Regions from separate parts of the Homo sapiens genome. Here region 2 is linked to region 1. The links are contacts of gene promoters, found by promoter capture Hi-C in blood cells and fetal thymus (Javierre and others, 2016). All regions are on one chromosome and are shown on one strand. The core of a region is centred on a gene start or on the middle of the fragment in contact, and the rest is flanking DNA. Distances in the headings are between cores, read along the strand shown.

Evidence for each region. The method cuts DNA at HindIII sites, captures the fragments that hold promoters and counts their contacts. A CHiCAGO score of 5 or more calls a contact.
Region 2: a contact is called between a fragment that was not itself captured here and the fragment with the promoter of CYRIA in region 1, in 1 of 17 cell types (endothelial precursors). The highest score is 6.2, in endothelial precursors.

What each region holds. Positions count from the first base shown.
Region 1 is chr2:16,663,444-16,667,734 of GRCh38, forward strand. CYRIA (CYFIP related Rac1 interactor A) reads right to left here and starts at 2,391. Exons shown (of 12, transcript NM_030797.4): 1 at 2,337-2,391. RefSeq lists silencers at 2,308-2,357, 2,428-2,597. The HindIII fragment of the contact is 7,241 bases long and covers 1-3,410 here.
Region 2 is chr2:15,642,668-15,646,958 of GRCh38, forward strand. No RefSeq gene overlaps it. Among named protein-coding and RNA genes, the nearest start is that of LINC01804, 46 kb to the right of the region's middle. The HindIII fragment of the contact is 2,017 bases long and covers 810-2,826 here.

The DNA.
Region 1 (4,291 bases), core at 1,141-3,640:
AAAAGAAGAGCGTGTACTGAAGAAAAAAACACCAGGGAAGGGAAGGAACAGCCTCACTGGAGAGGGTCACTGACAGCTGACAGTGGGTGCCCCTATGGCCCTGGGGAGCTATGAACTCCTTGCCCAGGGCTGGCTTGGGAGGGTCTACTTGACTCTGGGTCCCTGACTTATCTAGTTGCATCTAGGCCTGGGAGCAAATGCAAACTGAATTCTTCTTGGTGCTGAGTAAAAACAGGAAGTCACAAGTGGCTTTGCTCTGCTCTCAGCTGGGGTCCTCAACAGTTCAGGTCAAGGGTACACTTGGGACACTCCAGACAGCTTCCTGGCAGCTCCCTCCACAGTAGTCCAGCAGGGACAGGAAAAGTGGAGACACCTTCTAAAGAGCCTCCTATAGTGTGGGTTTAGGCAGCTGGACTAAGGAAGTCCCTGTGATCCCTCGGACAGGACCAGGGAGCCCAACAGAGATGCGTGTATGTCAGCTTCATCACTTTTCCATTCATTGAACCAAAACTGAGGGCTGACTGTGTGCTCAAATCAATGTGACCTTAGGGAAATAACTCACTTGCTCTGAGCTTAGTTTCCTCATCTGCAAAGTGGAAAGAGCCCCTGCCCCATGGGGCTATTGTGAAGATGAAAGGAAATAACACCAGTGAGGTCCTTTGCCACATTTGGTATCTATTTTTAGCACTGAGGCAGTATGCGCCCACTATGTGCCCAAGCCCGTGATGCTGCTGCTGCCCCCTTCCCAGAGCCAGAGCCCAGAGGCAGGAGGGAATGTGGGCAGGTCTGTTTCCACCTCGCTTTCCCACTCTCCCCTCACAGGAACCCAGGGCCAGCAGGAGGTGAAGTTCTGCCAGCCCCCAGCCTGGGCCCAGCGCCCATGTTTATGACTGTTTATTTCAGAGCAAGTAGAAAGGAGAAATTAGAGCCATGAAAGACAGGACAACGGACCAATAAAAACCAGCTCCCAGAAGAGTCAGAAGGAGGAAGACAGGCAAAACTGTCACCATAGCAACACAAGACAGTCAGAAGCACGCAGGAAAAACAGCCCCTGCTCTGCCTCCTGTCTCCACTGCAAAGCAAGCCCTCGAACCCCAACCAGAGATCAGTGAAAGCCGACAATGATCCACCCAAAGAACTCTGGTACCCAAGCCCAGACCTGGCTAGCAGCCACTCTCCTCCTGCTGCCCCAGCACAAGTCCCAGCCTTCCAGGGTCCCAGATCAGCATTCTGTGCCCTGGGGACTCGACACTGTGCAGATGGCCCAGGTCCCATCCAGAGGAGATAGTGACTGGTGACAGAGAGGAAAGTTTCTAACAGGGAGAAAAGGAGGGTCACAGAGCTTCAGGGGAGATCAGGGCCCTAAACTCCAGCCCCATGACCCTGTCTTGGGTTCCCTGGGGAGCAGGCGGGTAAACAAGGGTGTGGGAGAGGACATCAGGCCCTGGACACAGAAAGATTGCTCCATCAGTTCTGGACCTGGCACCCCCAAAACAGTGGCTGGGGGAATTCTGGGGATGCGTGGGGAAATAGCTTTGGAGGCCTTAAATGACAAAGATCTTGGCCCTGGTCTCTGGGGACACTGGCTAGCGAGTAGGAGCAGCTTGGAGGAGGACCCAGGGACGGGCTGGCCCATTTTGACAGAGAATGTCTCCTGGCAGACAAGACAGGTGTCTCCACCAAAAAGCATGGCTGGCCTGGGACCAGCATTTTGGGAAGTGGGTCAAATTGTTCCCAAAGCTCAGTATTGGAAAAGTGCCTTTTGCCAAACTGGGGTTCTGGGTTCTGGGGGAGGAGAGAGGGTGACGGCAAGGTGTGCTGGGTCCTAGGCACAGCAGCTTTCTGGCTGGCTAAGAACGTCTGTGGCAGGTGGCAACAGAAGGGTCCAGGTGTGCAGGGGCTGGGGAGGGGGCCATCCCTCCCTTTGGGGCTGTAGAGAGTACCCAGGACCCCGGGGCCTCGGGTGGTGGGAAGGGGAGTGTTAGGGGTCCCCTGCAAGAATGGAGCTTATGATACCTGGGGTGGGGGGTAAGTGAGTGAGGGACGAGGGAGGGTGGTCTGGGAAAGGAACACAATCAGGAGGCAGCCCTCTCAGAAAGAGGGCAACGGGGCACAAAGCCGGACCTCTGTCCGGCGATCGCTAGAGAAGGGCTCCCGGACGGTGTCCTCCGCTCTCCCTCCCTCCCAAAGGCTGCAGGGGCGTCCGGGAGGAGAAGGATGGCAGGGAGGCGCCCGCCCCGCCTCGCGGTGCCCCGCGGTGCCCCGTGCAGGCCGAGCCCCGCGCCCGCAGACCCCCGCCCGCGCCCCTGCCGCGCCCCCAGCCGCGCCGCGCTCACCGAGTCGCCGCCGCCCTGCTCTGCCGCCCGCTCCGCCGCCGCCGAGTACGCCTCTCCCGCGGCCGCCGCAGCCTGCGAGACGGCCTCGGAGCCCCGCCCCGCCCCTCCCCGTCCCTCCCCGCCCCGCCCCGCCCCCAGCCCGGCTCGCGGCAGCCGCCCCGCCCCGGCCCCGGGGGATCCCCACCCGCGCTGTCACCGGCCGCGTCCTCACCCTAGCCTGGACAACCCCATCTCTTTGCCCGGCTCTGCTCTCTGCTCCCAGGAGCTGGTGCGGACCCGCCCCAGCACGGTCGCCCCTGCCCCTTCTCAGCCTTGGCCACTTGGCCTTGCCTTCCCAGAGGAAGCCCGAACCAGACCTTTCTGTTTCTGCACACCAAATTCCTCCACACCCACGGTTGCCCTCCAAGAAAAAGAAATCCCCGCAATCTCTAGACGCATATTCACCTTCAAATTAATGCCCAGCCAAATCATCCCAATCCCTAGGCACACTCCAAATTACTTGAGATTCTGAACCCAGTCTCGCTCCCAGTCCCTTTCTGCCCACCCTATTAACAGATCTCCAGCCTTGGGGCCCGCAGTTATCCGATAGGACCACTGTAAAGTCTTCCCAAAGGCTCAATCCAAAACATGTAATTAACCTTAAAGAGTAAGTCTGCAAAAACACTTAAAAAATTCTATGATGCAAAAAGAAAGTAGTGGGTTACAGCGTCATTGACGTGATCATTGTTCTAAAACATCTGCCATGGAGGCTTTTTGCATTAGAGAGAGGGAGATTCAGGAAACCGGAGAGGACTCAGCAGTGCCAAACAGGTTGTGAGTCAGAGCTCCTGTTGAGGGGAGGGAGAGCTCCTGGGGACCCCGGCTTCGGGTGCTTCCTTTCCCAGTCCATCAGCCAGAACATCATGAAACATGTGTTAAATCCCCATAGTGTGCCAAGGTACGTGCCCGAAGCTGCATGGGTTGGGGCCCTGTGTGGGCTGGGATCAGAGGAGGCGGGAAGCATCAGGAGAAGGTGTTCAGGCCCCTCTCCTTTCTGAGATCCAGGGTGTTTCCCCTGGGAGGACTTGTTGCCCAAGCTTCCTTTGCACTCTGAAAGGCTCTCCTGAACTGCCCACAGAGGCTCTTGGTCTGTTTTTTGGCAAAAATTCACAGAGGGCAGGAAGGCACTGTCTAGTTAGAGTGAAATATTTTCCCACTTGGAAGGGGTCCTTAGGACCAGAAGAAACACTTTCCCGTTCTCTTTTTGAGTTTTCCCCATGCCCTAGACCAGCCTCTGTTGTCAATTCCTGCAAAGGTGTTTTTTTTGTTTTTGTTTTTTGAGACAGAGTCTCACTCTGTAGCTCAGGCTGGAGTGGAGTGGTGTGATCTCGGCTCACTGCAACCTCCATCCCCCGGGGTTCAAGCAATTCTCCTGCCTCAGCCTCCAGAGTAGCTGGGACTACAGGCGCCTGCCACCACATCCGGCTAATTTTTGTATTTTTAGTAGAGACGGGGTTTCACCATCTTGGTCAGGCTAGTCTTGAACTCTTGACCTCGTGATCCACCCACTTTGGCCTCCCAAAGTGCTGGGATTACAAGCGTGAACCACCGCAGCCGTCTGGCAAAGGTGTTTTATCTGTGAGTGGCTCTATGAGAAAAGCCTTCTTGCCATGAGGTAAACCATGTCTACTACACACACACACACACACACACACACACACACACACACATACACACACCCCTAAAATTTTCTGGCTTAATCTGTCCACCTTGAGTTTGGCCAGGTTTTGGGAAGAGTGAGGACTAATCAGCCACAAACACCATTCATCCCCATAAAACACTATCATTTCAGACCATGAGAGGACTTTTCACTTTACACCCATCTGTCTCTACTAATACAGCTCAAGTTTGTGAGTAGACTATTTGATGCATGAGATTTCACTTCCACACACTTAGAGATGGCTTCTGTTTCAATA
Region 2 (4,291 bases), core at 568-3,067, 1.0 Mb before region 1:
ACCCAAGTGCATGTCAATATGTCCTGAAAGGCTGGGAGAAGGTGAGCCCAGGTAGATTCTAGAGCAGGATGCCACCACATGTTCAGGCTGGAGTGACATGGCCAGCTGTCCTGGGGGGCAGGGGAGGACAGAGACCCTTCACCAAATGCCATCTCTTCTTGGCCTCACAATGGCTGCGTGAGGACAGCAGGGTGCAGGCTGCTTGCCCATTTTCCAGAAGGACAAGATGAGGCCCTTAGAAGTTGCCCTACTCACAGCCGGTAGAAAAATGAATCCAGTTTCTTGGACTCCAACGTCTTTCTGCCCGTCCCCCGCCTCCCGACTCTCACCTCCTTGGAGGCTTACGGGGCTCTGTATAAGTTTCCCACAAAAAATCCGTGCTGCTGGGTGGAACGCGGGTGCTGTTCACATTCGTGTGTGGTTTTCCCTGGCTTATATGCAACAGCTTCTTTTTCTCTTTTCTTAATTTAAAGGTGACTCTTCTGGAAGTCCCCAAAGTGGAATTGACCCTAAATTGAAAAGAAGATCTTTCTAGGGCAAGAGCTTTGTTCTTGTGAATTTTCTGCCTCACCAACCATGGGGAATGTGAGCTGGGGGGGAAAAGTCTGTTAAAGCTGGTCATTCATTTCAGGGGGCCAAGGAGCGATTCTGAAGGAGCAAAGTCTCCTCATGCTCTTGGCCTTTTGATCTACTCAGGCTCTGTGGCAGGAAGACAGGGAGGAATCCCTGATCACCCACAGCCCTCCCCGCTGCTGTTAAGGCAGTATGATGATGGGGGGTGGAGCTGGAATTAAAAATAAAGAAATACAAGCTTGAATTCTACTTTAACATGAACAATCTCTAATTTTCATATCATAAAATGAATAAAATAATATTTTTTCCCATAGAAAGTGATGAACTGGTACATGTATTTTAACCAGTTGTAAAATGTCTCCTTCCCTGTATCTGTGTCTCCCGCTGTATGCCACCACAATATCTGGCACGCATGCACTGTTCCAAATGTTGGGTTTAAAAATTTCATTTTATGATTAAAATAGAGAAATATTATCAGTGAATATTAATATAGCATTTAGTGACACAGCAGTTAGGATTAGGTTCAATTACATACAGCAATGCACTCAAAATATGGTGGCTCAAATACAAAGGATTTATTTTCTTTTTGATATAAAAAAGTGTATTTGGGAGTTTTCAGATAAGGTATAAACAAAAAAAAAAAGAAGGTGTAGAGGCAGGCAGTCTGGAGCTAGGAGCTAGTAACGTCAGCCCTTCATCATCAGATATCCCAGCTCCTTCTGGCTTTCCGCTTTTCCATGCTTAGCTCATGACGTCCATCCTCAGAGATGCCGCATGATCTCACTTGCTGCTGGAGCACAAGCCATCATATCTGCATTAAGTACAGCAGAAAAGAGAAAAAAAGAGAAAGCCAAAAAGGAGCTCCCTTTCTGGTTGTCTCCCTTTTAAAGAGTCTTCCCAGAAGTCTGATGCAACAACTTCTATATACAGCTCATTAGCTAGAACTTGGGGCCACATCTCCTCAAGAGAGGCTAGAATATGTAGGGTGGTTTTTTTTTTTTTTTTTTTTTTAAGTCTGGGAAGATTGGAGTTCTGTGTCTAAGCCAGAATGGAAAGTTGGATGTTGAGGAGGCAACTAAATGTCTCTGCAGCATACACATTATGTAAATATGTGATGATGGGGTCATGTGAATCTCATGTCCAGGCATGTGCATTTTTCTCACCAAATTTATTCATTCATTAGTCAGTTACTCTTCATGGAATCTGCTTGCAAAGCACTGGACTGGGTGCCATGCACACATAAATGAAGAAGTGAATACCAGGTCCCTTTCCCCCTAGTGCATGGGAGTAGATGGCAGAGAGGGTACAAGTAAGAGTCACAAGTGCAGTGATGGAATGAGCAAAGAGGACCCAGAGCTCCTGGCCCAGCCTGGGGGTTCAGGGAAGGCTTCTAGGTAGAGGTGACAATGATAAGCCTTGAAGGATGAGCAGATGTTAGTATCTAGAGATAGGAATGCTGGCATAATTAAGCAGGTGTTTGTCAAGTAATCCGCTTTGCTAGCATGCACCATGACAAAAAAATTCTCAGAAAGGCCCTCTGAGCAATTCCTGCTTCACTAAGATGGTATGAAGAGAAAATGAGAGACTTTGATTTGCATCAATTTAGGGACCTTCTGATTACAAATGACAGAAACTTCAACTCTGTCTTAGGCAAAAAAGGAAATGTATTTGTTCACATAATGGAGAAGCCCAGACTCAGGCTTCCGATGGCCCTTAATCGAGGATGTCACATGGTGACAGTGGAGCTTGGTTTCTCTGCCTTCTGGATTCCCTAGTCCTCTGTTCTCTGTGTTGGCTTCATTCTAAGTCTCAGGCTCAGAGCTTTTGAGTCCAGCAAAAACTGAGAGCTGCTCTCGTAGAAGACCCAGGATATACTATGACAGTTTGAAGAATGGGATCATTTGTCCAGTCATGACCAATCACTCTGGCTGGGGGAATTTGGTGCGTGATTGGCCAGACCTAGGCCAGCTGCTCACTCCATCTGTAGAGCTGGGAGCCCCACTAGAAACTAAAAAGATGAGGCTGGAAGATGGTCCCTGAAAGGGATTTGGAGAGCTGTGGTCAGAGGAAAGGGGTGTGGAGACTGGGTGGCCAAACAACACATATCCACTGCTACTAGATATTGGTCGGTATGGAAGGCATTGGTGTGGACATTTACAGATGAAGATGATAAGGTTCAAAGAGGTTAGATAACCAGCATCCACAGCGCTGAGTGGCAAGTGGTGGCTGGATCCCTGGTTTCTTTGACTGCAAAGCTTATGCTCTTGCTACCCACTGCTACCTCCCAGCATCACACTGTTGGATCCCATGCAGTCCCATGGCTTGGTGGTAGGGGCTGACCTGCCTGGATTCAACTGAGTTATTTGCCAGGGCAGCCATGGTCAGCCAACTCCTGGTGTGATATAGACACTTGAGGGCCAGGTGCAGTGGTTCATGCCTATAATCCTAGCCCTTTGGGAGGCCAAGGAAGGTAGACAACCAGCCTGGGCAATGTGGCGAAAACCCATCTCTACAAAAAATTAGCTGGGGGTGGGAGCATGGTTGCCCACGCCTGTAGTCCCAGCAGGGCTGAGGTGGGAGAATCACCTGAGCCTGGGAAGTCAAGGCTGAAGTGAGCTGTGATCATGCCACTGCCCTTCAGCCTGGGTGACGGAGTGAGACCCTGTCTCAAAAAAGAAAAAAAAAGACACTTGATACATCATTTTTGAATGAATAAATGACTCTATCCTCAATCTGTGCTGGAAACTGTAGTGCAGAGTGTGGGGTTGAAAACCACAAGCTTGTCTGAATTCCATAACATCACAAGAGAAACAGGAAAAGTGAAATTTGCCCTTCTTTTCAAGAACAATGGCCATTGCTTGACACTCTTTGAACTGTCAGCAACGTCACTTCACCTCCTTTCTGAGGTGCATTTTGCATGTGCTGCTCAGCAGGGTCACAGTGGCTGCCGATGAGGCGTTGTCGACAAGGGGACTAGCACAACTGGAAACTCCTTTGCATATTTCCATATCCTGGGCTCTGGCCTTCACGTGGTTGTCACCAGACTGTATTTATAAGACAGCATGAGACAAGTGGCCCTCCCGTGCTCACACATGGCATTTGAGACTCTGATCTGGACCCTACTCAACTGCCATTCACTCAGTCATTCTGAATTTTTTTTTTTTTTTTTTTTTTGAGACAGAGTCTCACTCTGTCACCCAGGCTGGAGTGCAGTGGTGCCATCTCGGCTCACTGCAACCTCCGCCTCCCAGGTTCAAGCGATTCTCCTGCCTCAGCCTCCTGAGTAGCTGGGACTACAGGCCCATGCCATCACGCTGGGCTAACATTTGTATTTTTAGTAGAGAAGGGGTTTCACCATATTGGTCAGGCTGGTCTCGAACTCCTGAGACCAAGTGATCTTCCTGCCTCGGCCTCCCAAAGTGCCGGGATTACAGGTGTGAGCCACCGCGCCCTGCCAGTAACTATTTTTTAAAACTCCAGTGTGTGTTCAGCAATTCCATTTCTGGATCTCTAACCAAATGAATTGAAAGCAGAGACTCAGACAGACACATGTCTACTGATGTTCACGACTTTTTTCACAACAGCCAAAAGGTGGAAACAACCCACATGTCCATTAATGGGTGAATGGATAAACAAAATGTGGTGTATTGATACAGTGGAATAATATTCAGTCTTAAACGGGATTGAAATTCTGAGGCAGGCTACAACACAGGCGAAC